Linked DNA regions of Homo sapiens: region 1 is linked to region 2. The links are contacts of gene promoters, found by promoter capture Hi-C in blood cells and fetal thymus (Javierre and others, 2016). All regions are on one chromosome and are shown on one strand. The core of a region is centred on a gene start or on the middle of the fragment in contact, and the rest is flanking DNA. Distances in the headings are between cores, read along the strand shown.

Evidence for each region. Contacts are between HindIII fragments. The CHiCAGO score rates a contact against its expected background, and 5 or more counts as called.
Region 1: a contact is called between a fragment that was not itself captured here and the fragment with the promoter of RPL23A in region 2, in 3 of 17 cell types (naive B cells, megakaryocytes and naive CD4 T cells). The highest score is 5.8, in naive B cells.

The regions. Positions count from the first base shown.
Region 1 is chr17:28,817,922-28,821,360 of GRCh38, forward strand. All of the region lies in intron 1 of FAM222B (family with sequence similarity 222 member B), which reads right to left. Among named protein-coding and RNA genes, the nearest start is that of FAM222B, 23 kb to the right of the region's middle. The HindIII fragment of the contact is 358 bases long and covers 1,219-1,576 here.
Region 2 is chr17:28,718,666-28,722,389 of GRCh38, forward strand. RPL23A (ribosomal protein L23a) reads left to right here and starts at 1,320. Exons shown (of 5, transcript NM_000984.6): 1 at 1,320-1,365; 2 at 2,042-2,225. The coding sequence starts at 1,341. It overlaps SNORD42B (small nucleolar RNA, C/D box 42B), which reads left to right and starts at 1,885; the gene lies at 1,885-1,951. RefSeq lists enhancers at 1-576, 577-1,178, 835-884, 1,315-1,534, 1,875-2,034. The HindIII fragment of the contact is 1,784 bases long and covers 1,145-2,928 here.

The DNA.
Region 1 (3,439 bases), core at 148-2,647, 99 kb after region 2:
TTTCTGGCCTTAATCTAAATGGAAATAACCTATACCTAGATGGTATCTTTAAACTTCTATCTATGAAAGTAGAAGCATTATCTGGTAAAGAAGATTTGCTAAAATAACTAGTTGGTTAGGCTTCAAAATCTATTGCATGCAGTTTAAAAGGCATGAAGGTGGGGTGTAGGGGGTGGTTTATACTTCTAGCTACTTGGGAGGCTGAGGTGGGAGGATCATTTGAGCCCAGGAGTAAGAGTTCAAGGTTATAGTGAGCTATGATCGTGCCACAGCACTCCAAGCCTCAGTGACAGAGCAAGACCCTGCCTTTAAAAAAATAAAAATAGGCCAGGCGCGGTGGCTCACGCCTGTAATCCCAGCACTTTGGGAGGCCGAGGTGGGCGGATCACGAGGTCAGGAGATCGAGACCATCTGGGCTAACACGGTGAAACCCTGTCTCTGCTAAAAATACAAAAAATTAGCTGGGCGTGGTGGTGGGCACCTGCAGTCCCAGCTACTTGGGAGGCTGAGGCAGGAGAATGGCGTGAACCTGGGAGGCGGAGCTTGCAGTCAGCCGAGATCGCGCCACTGCACTCCAGCCTGTCTCCAGGGCGACAGAGCGAGAGTCCGTCTCAAAAAAAAAAAAGAATAAAAATAAAAAATAAAAATAAAAATAAAAATAACAAGACTCTATAGGAATGACTGATAAACCAGAATTAAAGCTCAAAGTCACGACAAGGGTGCCAAAGGGAAACACTTGTATGGTATATTTTTCCCTAATCTTCAAAATGACTGCTCCATCATTTATGGTTTAGGATGTTTGGGTTGTATGTTCTGGGAGTAGAGAGCTGGAAAGAAGGGGCAAGTTGTTAATTTTTCATACTGATGGGGTAGCACATGGTAGAAAAAGTAAAAAGCCAAAATCCTGAAAAAGTTTCACACACATAGACAAAATGAGACAGCAAACTTGTGAATCGAGCATGATTTGGCATCTTTAAATGCACAGCCAATTCCCTTCTAGTGCCAAAGCCAATGGCTTCTCCTGTAGATAAAATGGCACGGTTCCTGAAAAAGCCCTGGACGCTGTTTCCCCACAATCCTATAATCTGTCAGAAGACAGAAAACAAAAAGAAGGCTGTGCAAGCCAGAAAAAGCAAATTATAACCAACACAGAGCCAACACTTTACTTCAGACAGAAGGAGCTTTTCTATGCATCTTTGGAAAGGAAGAGACAAAAGAAGCTTACCATTGCTCAAATAATCAAGGCAAACAATAAAACAATTTAACCAAACACCATCTGGGATTAGCATTCAATGCAATAGCCTCCCTTCTCACTTCTTATTCATAGCCTTAAGGAATACTAACATCACATAAAAAAGAGTTGAATGCCACAATATACAAAGAACTCTTATAACTAAATAAGAGGAAGACAAATAACCAAAGGGGAAAATATTCAAAGAATATGAGATAGTAAATCACAGAAGAAATACATAAAGTCAAAAATTATATATATATTCCATTTTGTTAGGTAGTGGTGGAAAGTGCCTTCTCCATACAGTCCTAAAGGCATTTTGTCTTGATAGTACTGCCAACTGCAAGCTTCCAGAGAAACTTGGGCTATTTTGAATGAAAAAAATAATGATAAAGATGTCAAGCATAAGTAATACATTCCTAAAAATATTTAGAAGTTTTATGAAATACCTAATCTAGGAAGGAAACTATTCAATATAATGGATACATATAAGCTACAAATTAAATCCAAGAGAACTAAAATATGAATATAAAATGAACCTTTGCCTATGAATGTAAAACAGTTGAAGCCAATCCCTAAGCCTAGAATGAACAAAGCTGATGATGAAAGCAAATAACAGGGAGTCTTACTACAACCACAGAAATAAAACGTCTCTAAGAAAATAAAATTACTCAACTGTCTTTGCTGTGAAAGCATGTCATTCAAGGACCCTTTTAGCAGTCACCAAATGCAAATGCAAAAGCAGATAATGCCTGAGTCCAGCAAAAGCAAGTACAGTCTTCCCATCAAAGAGGAAAAGAAACCTAAGCCTTTCACTTGTCCTTGATACAAAAAGGTAAATGGATTGTGAAAGAACTCAAATTCCAGAAAAAAAGATTCCAGTCCAACCTGCATAAAGCTAAAAAAACTTCATGTTACTTTGTTCTAAAATTAGCAACACACAGGTCCCTATACTAAAAACAATATATACGATCCCAGGTGAGGTGTCAGGGTAAAGTTCCCAGCACGTCAGCAGACTATCCCATAACCATTTCAGTTTTCCCTTTTTGGCTTTTAGACAACATCCCAATTTTCCTCTATTGTTAATGTCACTTAAAAGGCTGAGAAAAATTTAGTTCAACAGATTCAAATTTCAATGTAGTTCCTAAGTACATTACAGGTAATGATGCCACTGATTCTATATTTAGACTCTGGTATGGAACAAGGAGTGTTAGTTTTGTCTAAAATGGTACCATGTCACTCTTCAAAGCCTAACTGCAACAATCACCTAATCCTGCATTAAAATGTCTTTAAGGTGTTACCTATAGCAAGTTAAAATGTTTTTTCAGTGTCTTTTGTGTGTGAGTGTTTCTATTGATTGGCTGTGATGCTATAAATATAGACACAATAAGTCACTCCCATCAGGCCTTTAAACATTCAGCAATGCAAGTACCATAAGGTGGAATTCATTCCTCATCTGAACCAAAAAGCAAAAATGGTAAAACTTTTTTTTTTTTTTTGAGGCGAAGTCTCGCTCTGTCACCCAGGCTGGAGTGCAGTGGCAAGATCTCGGATAACTGCAACCTCTGCCTCCTGGGTTCAAGCAATTCTCGTGCCTTGGCCTCCCGAGTAGCGGGAATTACAGGCGCCTGCCACCACGCCCAGCTAATTTTTTAAAATATTTTTAGTAGAGATGGGTTTTCACCATGTTGGCCAGGCTGGTTTCAAACTCCTGACGACCTTAAATGATCCACCTGCCTCAGCCTCCAAAGTGCTGGGATTACAGGAGTGAGCCACTGCACCCAGTCTGGTAAAACTCTTTTTATTTTATTTTTTTTTTTTTGAGATGGACTCTCGCTCTGTTGCCAGGCTGGAGTGCAACAGTGCAATCTCGGCTCACTGCAACCTCCCCCACCTGGGTTCAAGCGATTCTCCTGCCTCAGTCTCCCAAGTAGCTGGGACTACAGGCACGCGCCACCACACCCAGCTAATTTTTATATTTTTAGTACAAACGGGGTTTCACCATATTGGCCAGGATGGTCTCGATCTCTTGACCTCGTGATCCACCCACCTCGGCCTCCCAAAGTGCGGGATTACAGGTGTAAGCCACTGCGCCTGGCCAAAACTCTAATAATATGAACATTCTAAAGTGATCTAATAGTACTTATAAAAATATATTGCCTCCTCAAAAGGAATTTAAGGCCTCTCAATAAAAAGCATGTTGCTTAT
Region 2 (3,724 bases), core at 70-2,569:
CATGTCTGGTTTTATGAAGGGAGAGGGAAGAAGAAAGGATCAAGTGGGGATGGGTTAGGCACACACCTTAGGAGAAGCGAACCTGAGTGTTAAGAAACCTTTCTCTGTGTCTGGAGCTGAATTTGAGGATGTAAAGATGACCAGGACACGGAAGGGAAGACTAGTTTAGGGCAGGGGATTGTGAGTGAAGTTACTAACCGGAAAAACTAGCGAATCTTGGAGAAATGTGTGGAATTTTCATAGAACTTCAAATGCATTATCAGGAAACGCAGTAAAACTTGACAGTATCAGTGTCGCAGGTAAAGAGGGGCAGGTGTGGCCGCCTTGTACTTCCTCTGACACTTCCCCCTCGTGACTCGATTATTTATTTATTTATTTATTTATTTATTTTGAGACAGGGTCTCACTCTGCCACCCAGGCTGGAATGGCTCATTGCAGCCTCGACCTCCAGGGCTGAAGCGATCCTCCCACCTCAGCCTCCCAAGGAACTGGGACTACAGGCACGCACCACCACGCCCGGCTAATTTTTGTATTCTTTTGTAGAGACAGGGTTTCGCCGTGTTGCCCAGGGTGGTCTCGAACTCCTGGGCTCGAAGCAATTCGTCCACCTCGGCCTCACAAAGTGCTGGGATTACAGGCGTGAGTCACCGCGCCCGGCCCTGACTTGATTTTTTTCTGCCACCAAATCACTGTGTTATTGATAAACCACATTCCTCTCTGGACCTCAGTTCGACCGAGCAAATCCTGCTCCAGCACTCTAGAACTTAGCTGTATCTAACTCCCGAGTCAATCCAAATGTGTTCTTTCCTCTTGGCAGCGTTCCTGCCTCCTGGCATGGCAATCCTCTTCCCTGAGACTGGCAGTTGCTCAAGATAGGAAGCTCCCGGGACCAGACCCGAGCGCCAGCCGGCTACGCCGTCCGCTGGCCTGAGCAAATAAACGCGTGTCTTCAAAAAACTACAATCCCCATGGTGGCACGCGCCTGTAGTCCCAGCTACTCTGGTGGCTGAGGCAGGAGAATGGCGTAAACCCGGGAGGCGGAGCTTACAGTGAGCCGAGATCGCGCCACTGCACTCCAGCCTGGGCGACAGAGCGCTCAAAAAAAAAACAAAAAACAAAAAACAAAAAACTACAACCCCCATGAAGCTTTAGTGCCTTTGAGGGGAGGAGTGGCGCATGTTTGTTCACGCACGAAAAAGAAATTAAACCTAACTACCGTTCCCAGAGGGCGCCGCTCTGCAAATTACCCAATCAGCTCTAAGTACAAAGCATCGCGAGTCTTTAGTGCTCTTTGGCGCTATAAGCCCGTGGGAACGAGCATTGGAGACCCTTTTCACAAGATGGCGCCGAAAGCGAAGAAGGAAGGTGTGTGTTGGTGATGGGGCCGCAGCTGGTTTACCGGGGATTGCCGCGCCGCAGAGCGAACGAATTGGGAACACGGCTGCTGGGCTAAGCCCTGAGGGCTCTGCTCCGGGGCTGCTCCCTGCGTTTCGGACACGCTGCAGTATACGTGGGCCGCGTGGGCCCAGCCTCGTGGGCTGAGTTCCGGTAGAGGGAGTTGGGGGGGGGCAACGCGGCAGGCATCATCCGCCAGGGAGGGCCAGACATTCGGTTCTGGGAAGCTACATGCATCCACTGGTTGGAGCTCCATGTCCCCGGGCCTGTAAGGAATTAGTGCCCTCAGCTTTAACCATTTTCCTTCTGGTTCATGTTCAACCGGGCTACATTACCCGCCCCTCTCTCCGCAGCGTGGTTTTGCGATGGGGTATGTGTAAAATTCGTAGGACATTTTCTGGAAAGTATCAAGCGTTCATTCAGTGCTACTTTGTTTCATAGTCGTATCCCTGGAGTTACTTAGAGTTGGTCGCTTTCGCCTCTGGTATCGTGCATATGATGGAAAAGTTTTAATCTCCTGACACTTGTGATGTCTTCAAAGGAACCACTGATGCACCTGTGGCCAGGGTGGCCCACTGCAGTTCTTGGGGCCGGAAGTGACCGATTTCTAAATCCCGCACCCACGTTTTCTTTCCTTTTCTCCCAGCTCCTGCCCCTCCTAAAGCTGAAGCCAAAGCGAAGGCTTTAAAGGCCAAGAAGGCAGTGTTGAAAGGTGTCCACAGCCACAAAAAGAAGAAGATCCGCACGTCACCCACCTTCCGGCGGCCGAAGACACTGCGACTCCGGAGACAGCCCAAATATCCTCGGAAGAGCGCTCCCAGGAGAAACAAGTCAGTACTGCCCCCTGTACCCATGAAAAGATTTGGGTATTCTCCATTGGTAATTTGGAAATTCACTCACTCTGCGTGATGGTTTCTCAAACGCAAATTGTGTCCAGTGTGCTTCTCTAATTGGAAGTATGAGGAGATTGTTTCTGCTGCATTTACAAAACTGGCAGGATCAGCCCAGAGGCCGGGCGCGGTGGCTCACGTCTGTAATCCCAGCACTTTGGGAGGCCGAGGGGGGGCGGATCACTTGAGGTCAGGGGTTCGAGACCAGCCTGAGTGACATGGAGAAACCCCGCGTCTATTAAAAATAGAAAATTCGCCGGGCATGGTGGCGCATGTCTGTAATCCCAGCTACTCGCGGGAGGCTGAGGCAGGAGAATCGCTTGAACCCGGGAGGTGGAGGTTGCGGTGAGCGGAGATCGTACCATTGCATTCCAGCCTGGGCAATAAGAGTGAAACTCTGTCTCAAAAAAAAAAAAACCCTGAGTCTCTCAAAATTTGTTAGGTTAATTATTGCTTCACATGTGGTCACGGTTTGAAAACTTATTTTGGGGGGAGTATAAAGTAGAATACAGAGATTCCTTGCTCATAGCTCCTACTGCTATCGGGAACAATCCTTGAGGGTGAGAACGTGGATTGATTCTTGATTGATAGTGGGGATTCCATTATCTGTATTTGGCAGTTATGGCCTGCTGCGGTGTATAGAAGCTTCTTTCCATTCATTTTCCCGAATTTTCATACTGCTCAAGGAACAGTTGGGGGGGAATGGGCAGAAGGTTGGGCACTTGAGTATTTGAGCTATCGGTAATAACTGACTTTTTAGGGAGCACAGATTTGAGTAGAGCCATGGTAGTAGTTAGTACCAATGGGTTTTTGCTGCTTCTACTCTTTCTTAACAGAAAAAGTGGATTGTGTTCATATAGGAAAGCAGTTCACAGACTGTCTTCCTGCCCCTCCCGCCACCAAGCTGGACCTAGAATCAAGTGTGACTTTAAATGGGGAAAGCTGTGTTACAGTTGTGCTTAAGCCACTGCTGTGGCTTAACCTCACCTATGCATAAGAATTTGCTCGTGGCTGGCCGGGCGCGGTGGCTCGAGCCTGTAATCCCAGCACTTTGGGAGGCTGAGGCGGGCGGATCACGAGGTCAGGAGATTGAGACCATCGTGGCTAACACGGTGAAACCCCGTCTCTACTAAAAATACAAAAAAAATTAGCCGGGCGTGGTGGCAGGCGCCGCTAGTCCCACTACTGAGTCCCAGGCTGAAGCAGGAGAATGGTGTGAACCCAGGAGGCGGAGCTTGCAGCGAGCCGAGATCCTGTCACTGCACTCCAGCCTGGGCGAAGCGAGACTCTGTCTCAAAAAAAAAAAAAAAAAAGGAATTTGCCCCTGGCCCGATTCTCCTGCCTCAGCCTCTTGAGTAGCTCGGACTACAGGCGTGCACCACCATGACCAGCTAATTTTTGTATTTTTAGTTGAGAGGGAGTTTCACCATGTTGGCCAG